Linked DNA regions of Homo sapiens: all the other regions are linked to region 3. The links are contacts of gene promoters, found by promoter capture Hi-C in blood cells and fetal thymus (Javierre and others, 2016). All regions are on one chromosome and are shown on one strand. Each heading gives the region's core, a stretch centred on a gene start or on the middle of the fragment in contact. The rest is flanking DNA. Distances are from core to core; before and after follow the strand shown. Region 1 overlaps THEMIS (thymocyte selection associated). Region 2 overlaps THEMIS (thymocyte selection associated). Region 3 holds the start of PTPRK-AS1 (PTPRK antisense RNA 1).

Evidence for each region. Contacts are between HindIII fragments. The CHiCAGO score rates a contact against its expected background, and 5 or more counts as called.
Region 1: a contact is called between a fragment that was not itself captured here and the fragment with the promoter of PTPRK-AS1 in region 3, in 1 of 17 cell types (naive CD8 T cells). The highest score is 5.9, in naive CD8 T cells.
Region 2: a fragment that was not itself captured here is called in contact with the fragment with the promoter of PTPRK-AS1 in region 3 in 2 of 17 cell types (naive CD8 T cells and total CD8 T cells); the score reaches 5.6 in naive CD8 T cells.

The regions. Positions count from the first base shown.
Region 1 is chr6:127,761,235-127,765,386 of GRCh38, forward strand. The region is part of intron 4 of THEMIS (thymocyte selection associated); the gene reads right to left. Among named protein-coding and RNA genes, the nearest start is that of LINC02536, 99 kb to the left of the region's middle. The HindIII fragment of the contact is 3,999 bases long and covers 1-3,730 here.
Region 2 is chr6:127,719,275-127,723,375 of GRCh38, forward strand. THEMIS (thymocyte selection associated) reads right to left here. Exons shown (of 6, transcript NM_001010923.3): 5 at 414-549. Among named protein-coding and RNA genes, the nearest start is that of LINC02536, 57 kb to the left of the region's middle. The HindIII fragment of the contact is 1,119 bases long and covers 1,472-2,590 here.
Region 3 is chr6:128,024,815-128,029,271 of GRCh38, forward strand. PTPRK-AS1 (PTPRK antisense RNA 1) reads left to right here and starts at 3,051. Exons shown (of 5, transcript NR_125849.1): 1 at 3,051-3,109. All of the region lies in intron 13 of PTPRK (protein tyrosine phosphatase receptor type K), which reads right to left. The HindIII fragment of the contact is 8,791 bases long and covers 1-4,457 here.

The DNA of each region.
Region 1 (4,152 bases), core at 481-2,980, 260 kb before region 3:
ACATTGGCACACTCTTGGTGGAAATGCAAAGGTACAGCTGAGACAGGCAAGCTGGCAGGCTTCTGATTTTGATGTGGTTTAGAGAAAAAGAAAAAATGCCTCTCACTCAAGCTATAGCTGACCTAACTTCTAGCTAATCATCAAATAAAGACCCAAGAAGCTATTAATTACAGGTTCCTGCTTTAGGGGGCTAGGGACTTCCCTGGGACTCCACATGTGAAGATAGACTTGAACTTCAACTCACAGTTACCCCTTCCTCATTTTAATGCTAAAAATCATACCCAGGGGTGGAGATTTAAACTGCATATCTTCCATGCAATGTATTAAGAAGTGCATAAGGCCACTGAACAAGCACTAGAGAAACCCCTGCTATACAGGACCTGATGAAACCCTTCCCTATAGAAAGGACCTATAAAACTAATGCACATACTACTCTCAGGGAGCAGCCCACCCTTTTCTTTTTGTAGTGCTGACTTCCTTGTGCACAAGTGAAATAAATCTTTCTCTTTCTCTTTGCTGCTATGTCTAGTGATCTCTCTTTATTTCTATCCTGGGAGATTACAAGAACCCAGAGTGCCAATAGCACAGCCATTATGGAAAACAGTATGGAGACTCTCAAAAAATTAAAAATAGAACTACCATATGATCCAGCAATCCTACTTCTGAGTTTTTTATCCAAAAGAACTGAAATCGGTATCTCAAATTGATAGGAGCACTTCTATGTTCGTTGCAGTTGTATTCACAATAATCAAGATGTGGAAACACCCTGAATGTCTACTGATTAATGAATGGATAAAGAAAATGTACGCTATACATACAAGGGGATACTATTCAGATTTTTTAAAAAAGAAGGAAATTCTGCAGTATGTGACAACATGTATGAATTGGAAGACATTATGCTAATTGAAATATGCCAGTTATAGAAAGATAAATATATCACGATTCTATTATATGATGTATCTAAAACTAGGCAAATTCATAGAATCCCAGAAAGGGATGGTGGTTGTCAGGTGGGAAGACAGTGAAATGAGGAGTGACAAATTAAGTTTCAGTCAAGGAAGATGAATAAGCTCTAAAGATATTGTATACAATATGGTATCTATATTCAACAATATTATATTGTATAGGTAAAAATTTGTTACAATGATAGATCTCATGTCTTCTTACCAGAACTGAAACAATAACAAATACAAAAATGAATCCTCTGTTGGCATCCTGTCTTACTCAGAAAAGAAATCTAAAGCGCTTATCATTCCTTATGCACTCTGGCTCTCTGCCAGCTCTCAGATAAAATATACTACCATTCATCTCTATTCCAGCCATGACAAGAAACTTATTACTTCAAGGTCTTTGCATTGTCAGTCCCCTCCACCTGGAAAGGTTCTTCTCTCAGAAGTAGACATGATTGTCTTGCTCACTTCATTCCCTGGCCACTCTAATTAATTAAAATAACTGTCACCATCTCCATTATTTCCTCTACTCAATCTAAACAGTTTTCAATACTCATAATGCACTGAAAACTATAATTAGCCTATGGAATTGGCATTGACCTTGCTTTAATTTCTCATTTCTATCATCTCCCTTGCATTACCTGCTTTTGCTGCCATTGTTCTAAGTATTTCTAGGCTACATACACAGAAGTAATACATTCAGTGTTGTCTACCAAGTTACTACATTTCATAAAAATCAAAGAAAGATTTAATCAGCTGTTTATCTGCACTGAAAAAAAAAGATAGATAATTGGAGACCCATACAACCATTATATAAGTATGAAATAATTGGATTGGGGAAATGAAAGGAAAGACAAAGGGAATGCTTTTAAGTATTCCCTTTGAAAAATTAATCCCAACCAGGGTTTACTCTCTTACCTATTAGCTTGAGACCTAAGAGTTTAAGAAAGAAAAGAATGTGTCTGATTTCCATGAATAACTTGTACAGGGAAAGGTCAATTTAGAAAGGAAAGGGAAAGCATTATATTTTAATTTAGGTGCACTCACCAATGAATTCTCTATGTGATTAAAATAGTCTTGATCCTCACTATGCATTTATAGTGCTGTATAACTTACAGAATGCTTTTGTGTGCATTATCTCATTGAATCATCAAAAATCAATATTCGTGTTGTGGCTATGACTAGATTAACTAACTAACATCATCCCAAACAAAAGTTAATTTTGAATACTCCAAAGAATTGATGGCTGTTTGAGACAGGTGTTTCTGCCCAACTCTAGACTTCTGCGTAACAAAGTAGGTTATAATTAGAAGTGATTTAAAACAAAAACAAACCAAAAAAAAGGTCTTTGTCCTAGCTTTTCTACTCTCCTTACTTATCATGATCCATGAAAAAAGTTACCTTATCCACTTGCAAATGATTGAAAATATGTAACTAGAGATAATTTTCTTTATTGTAAACTTCATTTTCTCTTCATATAAAACTACATTGACCAGGTAGCTATTGAATTATTGAAATGTGGATAGTCTGAACTGAGATGTGTATAATATAAGTACTAGATTTTTAAAATGTAAAAGTAAGTTTTGTCTAATAATTTTACATTGATTACATGTAAATCAATGAAACTGATGATATTTTGTAAATATCATGCTAAAGTATATCACTCAAAGAAGTTTTTCCCTGTTTCTTTTTGCTTTTTTGATACAGTTACTAGGAAAATTTTAATTACATATATGACTCAAAATTGTGGCTCACATTATATTACTATCGAAGAGATCATTCAGAGAGGGCATATAACTTATAGATTCCTAAAATCTGGTTTAATTAGATGTAGTTAAGGAAGAAACAAATGAGAGTATCATGAAATTTATCCCAAGTTTAGAAAGAAAGACACAGGAAAGTGTGCAAGATATTTCGTATCAGAAAATTGGTAATAGAAGGCTTTATGATTGGCAATATTTACTGAGTGTTTACTAGGTACCTGGCATTGCACAAACTTTATCCCATTTAATACTTATAAAACCCCATGAGGTAGAGACTAAATAAGGTGAAACCCATTTTCTGTATTTTTTTCCACAGTCATTTGCCAAAATTTAGCTTCTCTTTCTCTTTCATTTTGTTGAACTCTATAATCTTGAGGCATTTTTTTTTTACTATAGTAACGTCCATTTAATTTTGGTATAGAATTAATACTAAAGAAACATTAAAACATTAAAAAGTGGTTAGGAAATGCATGTCTGCAGCAGACTCCTATAATCAATAAGAATAAAATATAAAAGAAAATGTTTCTTAAGTTTATACAGAGATATCATAGCTGCAGAGAAGGCCTAAATGGGACACTAGGCTACAAACACCTCTCCTTATCCACTCCTTGACTATTTCAGGCCTTATTTCCTAAAATAATGCAGTTGGTAATAACATTGATCCAAGACAGGTGTTGCATGCTGGTATTACCCTAAAGCACTGGCAGTCATTGATAACCAGACTATGGCTCAAGAACAGTTTGGGTATTGTCCTCCCATTCCTTTTTCCTATCTATCATTAGATTTTTGAGTATCTTTATTTTCTTATCTATTACTTAAAATATCTAGAAGTTATTTTAACTCTGCTTTTCCTGAAGATTAACATAAATGTTGTTATATGTTTTGCTCTCTCTCTCTTTCCACATTATCATGAAATTAGACCCCCCAATTGCAGTAGGAGTTTATGCTTCATTTTGTTCTGACATCTTCATTTGTATGAGCCACCACCAGGGAAACCTCATTAACTGTGAATTTGAAAGCTTCATATAAACTACAAGTCTCTCATAAATCTAATCTTATTACAGGAGACCCTTACATTCTCCAGGGATACCCGTTGAGACTTTCAAGAATTCTCAAAGTCAAGAACACTATTATAGCACATAATTTCTTTCTTAAAAATTCAGTAATGCAGAATAAAAAAATATATGAAAGGTCTCTTCAGACTCTTAATGGTTCTAATAACACAAAGCCAAAATCGTATATAAAGTCATTTGAGAGATAAGAATTGTTATTTTCTTCCACCTCTTTATTGCTCACCAACTTTATTGGTTGCCTACTGTCTGGGAAGTATTTCACAATGCAACAAAGTTTGCATCGTGTCATGAATGTAGCTGCATGGAAGATGATAAAGAGAGAACAATAAAAGCCCAAATTGGGATGAATTTTCAACTAGGAAAAAT
Region 2 (4,101 bases), core at 781-3,280, 310 kb before region 3:
CCATCATAATTCAAGCTTGCATTCAGTGACTTATCTGACGCTTCTTTAAATTTAAAACATCTCAATTATTTTAACCTCTTTTCAAGACAGTAATTCTTCTTGTTCATTGTTCCAGCAAAAATATTATTATCACAACAATACAAGTAATCTTGAAATATTTCATTGCCATGAAAACCATAAATGAGGTGAAAAATCTAATAGTGGAAAACAATAAACATTACTATTATTATTGTGAGTGTTCAATATCATGCTTCACATAAATCTTCATTTCAATGTGATTGGCAGAGCAGGGTGATCACTTGGGCTGAGTCATATATTCCAAATAAAATAATAGTAAGAATCTGTCCATTGCACCTTTGTCATGTGGACAGTTAAACCACCGTGGTTTAACTGACCTATAGTCACATCAGTACCTGCTATTGCTGTGGCCCCACGGTTGCTCCTTTCTTTCTCTTCATCCACCAAATCATTCTGACTACCAATCAGTACTTTTGAATCCAGGCCAGCTTGATTTGGGTGAAGTTTCTTGGTTATGTCTACGTGATGACGCTGAAATGACACAGGTCACAAGTAAATTATCAGTCCAAAATAAATGCTTCATAGAGATATGAAAGATTTATCACATGGCAATTCATTTCTGTATGTCTGAAACAGAACATTTGACATGTCAAAGCAAGCTACAAATTATATGTTCATCAATATATTTTGGAAACTGAGGTGTACAATTTTTGAAGCAATCTAAGTAACTAGAATAAGAAGTCATTTTAGGCATAGAAAACCATCTGCAAAGACTATTTGTGTATATTACTTTCTTCTTGTGAAGCTTATAAAATATTTTTCATTTAGAAAATTTTTACTTAGTTTTTATTATTATAGTTAACTAATCCAGCACTTCATTATATATTACATAATTACATATTATATAATCAAAAGCAGATTTCATTTCTGTATCATCTGTACTCTTTATATAAAACAAATCATAACATCTACTATAAATTAAACCACATTTTTAATCAGCATTATGCAAATTTGACAAAGCTCCTTTAGTCAATTTCAGAGTAATAATTCATCATAACAATGAATTATTAAGGCACAGCATCAATGGTCCCTATAACTCATCTCACATGTAAGAGATGTCACAGCATTTGACATTATACTGACACACTGTATGCTTCAAAGAATCATCAGATGGGAACAAAAAGTGAAGACTTCAATTGGAAATTAAACTTCCAGTACTTAATTAATTCATACCCAAGTCCAGACTAGAAGTTTGTCAAATTGAATAAGATTACAGAATATGTGAAGATTCTCAGCGTAAATATTAGCTAATCAATTATGGCCATTCAGGCTAGCCATGTTGGCTCACTAAAGGATAGTATAATGGACAACTTTCCTGTAAAGTTTCTCCTGTAGACCATATATTGCATGAAATTCATTAAAAGCTTGATTTTATAAAATCAACCACTTTTAAAGCTTGAGAAAGGCCAATAAGGAAATTAGGCTTTAGAATGATTAAATAATTCACTTGAGTTAACAAAATGAACAGTGCTGAGCCTTACGATATGAATCCTGAACTTTGGACAGTGTTCTTCATGATTGATTTCTTAAGATTTTTAATGTGGTGGACTGGATGTATGGATAGCCCTCATTCTTCACCCATCTCTGTATCCATGTCCTTTCTATAGAATTTTGCAGGGCCCTCCTACTCTGACTTTTGGCCTATCAATGTGGCTTCTTCTGGCCCAATAGGATATTGACACAGAGGCTTGAAAGAGGCTTGCACAATTGTTTTTGCTCATTCCTTAACTTCCACTATGCCATGAGGCTATGCCTAGACTAGCTGGCTGCAGATTGAACATGAGATGGGCAGAGTTAGGTCACCCCAGTTGTCCAAGCTGAAGCAAACAACAGCCAGAGGAGCCCCAGACGTTTGGGTGAAACCAGTCTAGATCATCTGAGACCAGCTCAAGTCAGATGAATTCCACAGCTTCATGAACTAAATGAATGTGATTTTGGTTGTATGCCATTATGTTTTTCTGGTGGTTATGCAGCATTGTATGCTGACGGATAACTGGTACATTCAACCACCGTCTATCTATAGTATCCCAGATAATGGATGTGGTGTGAGAATACAAATATAACATGACATTCTCTCAGACTCCAAATTATTCAAACACAATTTCTTACATTGCTTATGCAGATAATTAAAATAGAGTGTGGTAAGTCATTTGTAGATATTTCTCAATTCCTTTTCTAATGACCAAGGAAGGGATCCTAGCAATACTACAAAAGACAGCTCAAAAGATCAGTTTGGATGTTGGTATCAACTAGAACTAAACCACCCCACTTGTTTATTTTTAGCTCCTCCACAGTCCACAAAAATATAAGCCCATCACTGTAATTTTTAAAATTTATTGTCAGGCCTCTATTATCATGTAGTTTTTGGAAAGAAGCAGATTTCAGCATCCAACTACTTTCCTGATTCTGAATTACATACCTTTGAAAAGTATATTATTATTTCAAGTTATGACATGAGTATTAAATCACAGTTTCTCAGAACTGAGCAATGCAATAGATCAAAGAAGGAATAAGCTTCATGTTTGTTCATACCAAATTCAATTGAAAATATTAAAACATTGAGGGAAAGTTAAGAATTCATGCAAGTTGTGTATATTCTAATATATTCCAGACTGAAAATAAAAGAAATGCTGAGTTTATTTACTCATAAAAGGATTGTTGTGAAAACCTGAGAGAGAAAATAGCCCCTTCATCAGAATAGGTTCTGTATTGTAAAGGTTCTGTGCTTCCTGGTGCAAACCTCTGGCACACTGGACATTTTATAAACATATTAGTGTTTCAGTAATTAAGAGCCTCATTTTCCTGGAAACAGTTCCCACAGTGGAGTCTCTTCTTAAGCAACCCCTGTCAGATTTTCCAGCTTCTCTTTTACATTACATATTATAGCCAGGCTGCTGTTCCCAGGTCCTAACGTAAAGGGAGGTAGGTGTCTCTTAAGTTGCTGACCTTGCCACACTCGCTCTTCCTTGTTTACTTAGCCCCTCCTTCTAGTTCCCTGGGTCTGCACATTATACCCTGGCATCTCTTTTCTGCTACAATAAAATTCCTACAGTGTTTCATTCTTAATTGCCCAACTGCCCTCCACTAACCCTCAATTCTCTCTCTTCCCTCTCCCCTTTCCTATTTCTCAAATTCTTCCACCATGCCTTGATAACTTTGCTTTATGGTTTGCAAACTTCACTACCTGTTCAACTTCTTTTCTGAATATTGTCTCTACCTTCTTACCCTGACGAAAATCTCATTCTTCTTTGAAGACACCTCTTCTTCTGTGAATGATACTGCCTGCTTATTCTTCCTCATCCCTGTTACCCTTAAGTTGGAGGATCCCCTTCTCTGAGTGTTGTCCGTTGCAACCTTACCTCCTTGCAAAACATGTCTGCTACTTTGATATTCCTGTCGTCTAACTGTGTGCCGTCTCCCTTCTTGTTGGTATCATCTATCTACTAATATCCATGCATTTTTCATAAAAAGGCTTTGACACCCAGACTTTTGTCTTTTCTAGCCTCAGCATCGCTATGATCTTGGACAATATCCATATCTACATAAACATTCTGTCTGATTCATCCCTGGATCTCCTTACTACAAATGAACTTCTCATTTTTTCTACCTCATGCTTTCAGTCCCAAGATCACATCTGAAGTCTATCATCAGCTGAAATGTTTCCACCTCCAATATTAAGTATGTTCCTCTTTCTCTTCATCTCCTATCCTCAAGTTTATTCTCTCCACTCCAGCCAAATCTCCTTCTCCAAGACTGCTTTTTCCACAGTTTCTGCCAAGGCTATTTGTGGACCTCACTGGGATCTGAGATCCACTGATCCCTCTACTTTCTCTATATCCATCACCCCTTTGCTCTTTTTCCTTTATTCTCTGTCCAGCATCCATTGCTGCTCAGAAACTTCAATCTGGAAGACTTCAACTTGTTTTACCTGCCAGACTTCAACTTGTTTTACCTCTCAGCAGCATCTGACATGTCTGGTCACCTCCTTCTTTTGGTTTCTGATGTTCCTCCTTCCACTCTGAG
Region 3 (4,457 bases), core at 1,801-4,300:
CAAAAACAACAACAACAACAAACCAGGCCTATATTGTAATCACTGATAATTGCTAGAATTTATCATTAGATTTTTCAGGATCATTAGATTTTTCAGCAATATAGTTTTGCAATTTATTAACATGTACCAAAAGAATGAATATGAGAGAATAGAATGTAAATTGTAATATTTACCTTTTCAACTAAGATCACACAGTACTAGTTTATTTTGCAGTACAACAAGTTTGTCTTTGACATATGTGGAATAAATTCTACAAAGCTGAAAGAATTTGCCAGTCCTTTTAAATTAAGATTATCTCAAGCTATTTCCAAATCCTCAACAAACTGAAACATGGTTTTTGCATTCTGCATGTAGGAATGTGGCTGACAACAAAGATTTGCATAAGACACTCCACTCTCTCCCTGTGAGGCCAAGTTTTGTATTCCTTCATTAGTTTGTATGAATTCATATAACGAAGTCTCTGGCTCAGACAGATTGTTTTCTCTAACTTTTGTTATATGAAGATTATTTCAGCTGAACCTGAAAGGAGACACACATTCTTATACATCTTTTGCAAAATTGTCCTACCTTATAGAGGAAGAATAAGTAAACACATTTAAATCAAGATGAAAATCAATAGTTTGTAGATTAGAAAACCCTGGTTCTATCTAGCTCAAATAAGATCAAATGCTGACTTAACAACTGCATCTAAAAGAAAAAGTCATAAAATAATTTTCTATGTCTGTATTAGTTTCTCAAGGCCACTGCAGAAAACTGCCACACACTTGATGGCTAAAAACCACACATATTTATTCTCTTACAGTTCTGGGAACTAGAGGGCCCCAAAGCAGTATCACTGGGCCAAAATCAAGGTGTCAGTAGGGTTACCCTCGCTGCTGAGGCTCTAGAAGAGAACTCATTCCTTGCCTTTTCCAGCTACCAGTGCTGCTGGCATTCCTTGACTTGGGGTTACATGACTCCAGTCTCTACCTCTGTGGTCACATTGACTTCTCCTCTGTCAAATCTTCCTCTGCTTTGCTCTTATAAGAATACATGTAACTGGATTTAGGGCCCACACTGTTAATCCAGTATAATCTACCTTGTCAAGATCCTTTACTTAATCACATTTGCAAAGACCGCTTTTCCCTAAAAGATAACATTTACAGCTTATTGGGATTAGGACCTGGTATCTTCCAGTAGCCATTATTCAGCCTACTAAAATCTATATGCTTTCCAATGTATTTTTAAACAGAATTTTTCAAGGTATAGGCTTTAAAAAATTAAGAGAATCCCAAGAGATCTAAACAGTAAGAGAGAGAGGCCTAAGTGATGATATTGAGTGGTATTGAACAAAATAAGACAAAGAAGATCATCTGCCATATTTGACAGATGTTGGTAGACAACATCTTCTCTTCATGTTCCGTTGTTTGTAATTTGTTTTTACTGCTACCAGAACCTCTTACAATTCTCTACTCACTCATGTAAATACTAGCTGCAGAAGGTCTGGCAAAACTTTCTCCTATTTGTATATGTGTAAAGTGGTCTTTCCCTTACATCAAGTTAAAGAAAAAATACAGTTGTAATAGCTACTTCCCAATAGCCAAAGGGTTGTATTTGAAAGAGGGATGAAAATCACTCCAGGTACCAAGAAAAACTACTGTGTGATCTGGGACAAGTTATCTGCTTTTTTTGAGACCCACTTTTCTCATCTTTACAATGAAATAACTAAATTCTGCTCTCTAGGCTTGTTCTGAAGATTACTGAATATACATTTAAAGTACCTAGAAGTATTTGACACATAGCAGGAACTTAATATACAATTACTGGTATTACTATTAAGGATTAAGAAAGCACTGGCATGCAACATATTATATATTTGACAAGATTACATCATCTTGAAAAAATATAAGAAGTATTCTTTTTGTATAGTACTTTAAGGAGGATATTATTCATTTTATATCATTTTCCTTCTCACTGTGATATGTAGAATATATCACACCAAAATTGTGGTTGACCCAACACTCCAACCAGTGTCCTATTTTATTCACTCTGTATTTCTTAATCTATTCAATAAATATTACTAAATCCATTTGCTGTGCTAGATGCTGAGGGAGGTGTGTGACACAGCCTGTAGTCTAGTAGGGGAGGTAGGCATTAAATAATTAACTCCAGTCAATTTCAGTGCTATATATGAAAAAGACAATTCACTCCTTTTTATGACTTGACTTACAGCTCACAGTGCCCAGAAAACTGGGATTCTTGATAGAATGCGCCACATATATCCTAATTAGCAACAATCACTAGTTTGGCCCCATAATGTACATACCTAACACACACTTTCACAGGCAAGAGAAGAAAATACCTATCATCATATTATGATCAAAGTATTTTGAAGTAAAAATACTTCCTCATTATTTCTTAGAATACTGCATACAGCAATTCCTTTAAAAGCAGACTCTACTAGCATGTTTCCCACTGAACAGAACTGTTTGTCCATTTAACCAAAAGGTATTTATTGCCCGGGAATTCATTAGTTCATTATTTGAAGAAATACGTATATTGGGCAAGAATGTAAATCAGGCTGTTTAGTTATCACATGAAAATGCATAAAACAGTACCCACATTCAAAGAGTTCAAAGAGTCCTTCAGGAAATCAGGTGCCTAAAAGTCAAACTGACCTTTAAAAAAAAAATGTTCATAGCTTCCTCTGTTAAATGAATGATCGTTTCAGAGCTTTCTAAATGCCAAACTCTTTTAATATATTATTTCAATTAGCTTTCACAAGCACTTATGAGGCTTGTTGTATGTTTTTTTTTTCCTTTGAGACAGAGTCTTGCTCTGTCACCGAGTCTGGAGTGCAGTGGAGCCATCTCAGGTTACTGCAACCTTCTCCTGGGTTCAAGCAATTCTCCTACCTCAGCCACCCGAGTAGCTGGGACTACAGGCGTGTGCCACTGTGCCTGACTAATTTTTGTTTTTAGTAGAGACGGGGTTTCACTCTGTTGGCCAAGTTGGTGCGTACTCCTGGCCTCAAGTGATCCGCCCACCTTGGCCTCCCAGAGTGCTGGGATTACAGGCATAAGCCACTGTGCCCAGCTGTATCTTCTTTTACCGATGAGGACACTGACAGGTTGGTATCACCTCTTTCCTAGTCTATATTGCAGCCACTCCCTTATTGAAGTTTCTGACTCCAAGTCCTACTCATCCTAATCTACCTGCAGCTTTTAAGGTGTCATTTTTCTAAAACTTAAATATGATCCTATCATTGTTCTTCTTAATAGCCTACAAAGATTTCAGGGAAAATGAAAATGACGAATATAAATTATACTGCACACACTATTTATAATAATATTTAGCCACTTAAAATTAAAACACATAAAAATGTGGGTAAAGCTCATGGTAAAATAGTAACTACAAATAATTACAAGTCACAATCTTTGCAATTATGAGAAATGTTTAAGTAAGCACCTGATAAAAAAAAGGAAAAAGCAAAAGTGATAACAGTTGCTTAGAATATTGTTTCAGAACACCTTTTAAGGTTACCACACTGTTTTAATTTTTAAAGTGGAAGAGAAAGTGCTTTAGCACTGTTGATAGCTGCCACCCTGCCCTCAAGATAAAGTGAATCTTGAGTCTTACAGCCCTTTCTCATATCTGTATCAACATACATTTTAGCCTAATTTCTTACTAACTCCTCAGTATATTCTTGAACACTGCATTAACTTTCATGTCTAACTGCAAACCTCTGCCCATGCTGTTACCAGTGTGGATATGGTCTCTGGTTTTTCTACCTATTTAAATGTCACTTTGTATGGAATTCTATTTCATGTTTAGGCACACTGCATGAAATTATTACTTCAACTATCAGGTTCTTTCACAATTCACAACTTCTTGAGAGCATGGAACATATCCTATGTATTTTTAGTATTTTCTCAATGCCTAGTGTAAGACATATGGCAGAGAGTAAGTGTGCAACAAAATTGTGTTAATATTCATATTTTTCATAAGTGAAAACAATTTTTTTGTTGATATGATGCTTTGATGGTTTCTGATTTAAGGTTAGGATGTTAAACGGACTCTATTTTTACATGACCATAATTCTACTCCCCAATTCTGTTCCTAAATCTTTAGTGAGCTAAGAATTCAGATTCATGGTAAGGTTAGAATTGTGCTGGACTGCTTGTGACTTCAACTATCCATCTTCCATGGTCAGTTCTTGATCAACTGATACAGTTTGGGTGTTTGTGCCCTCCAAATCTCATGCTGAGATGTATTCCCCAATGCTGGAGATGGGACTTGGTGGGAGGTTTTTGGTTTTGGGGGTTGGCTCTCTCACGAATGCCTTGGTGCCATCCTCACAGTAATGAGTGTTCTTGTGAGATCTGGTTGTTTAAAGAGTGTGGACCTTCCCTCTCCTGTCTCCCTCTCTTGCCAAGTGATACATGGTTCCCCTTCACCTTCTGCCATGATTGTAAGCT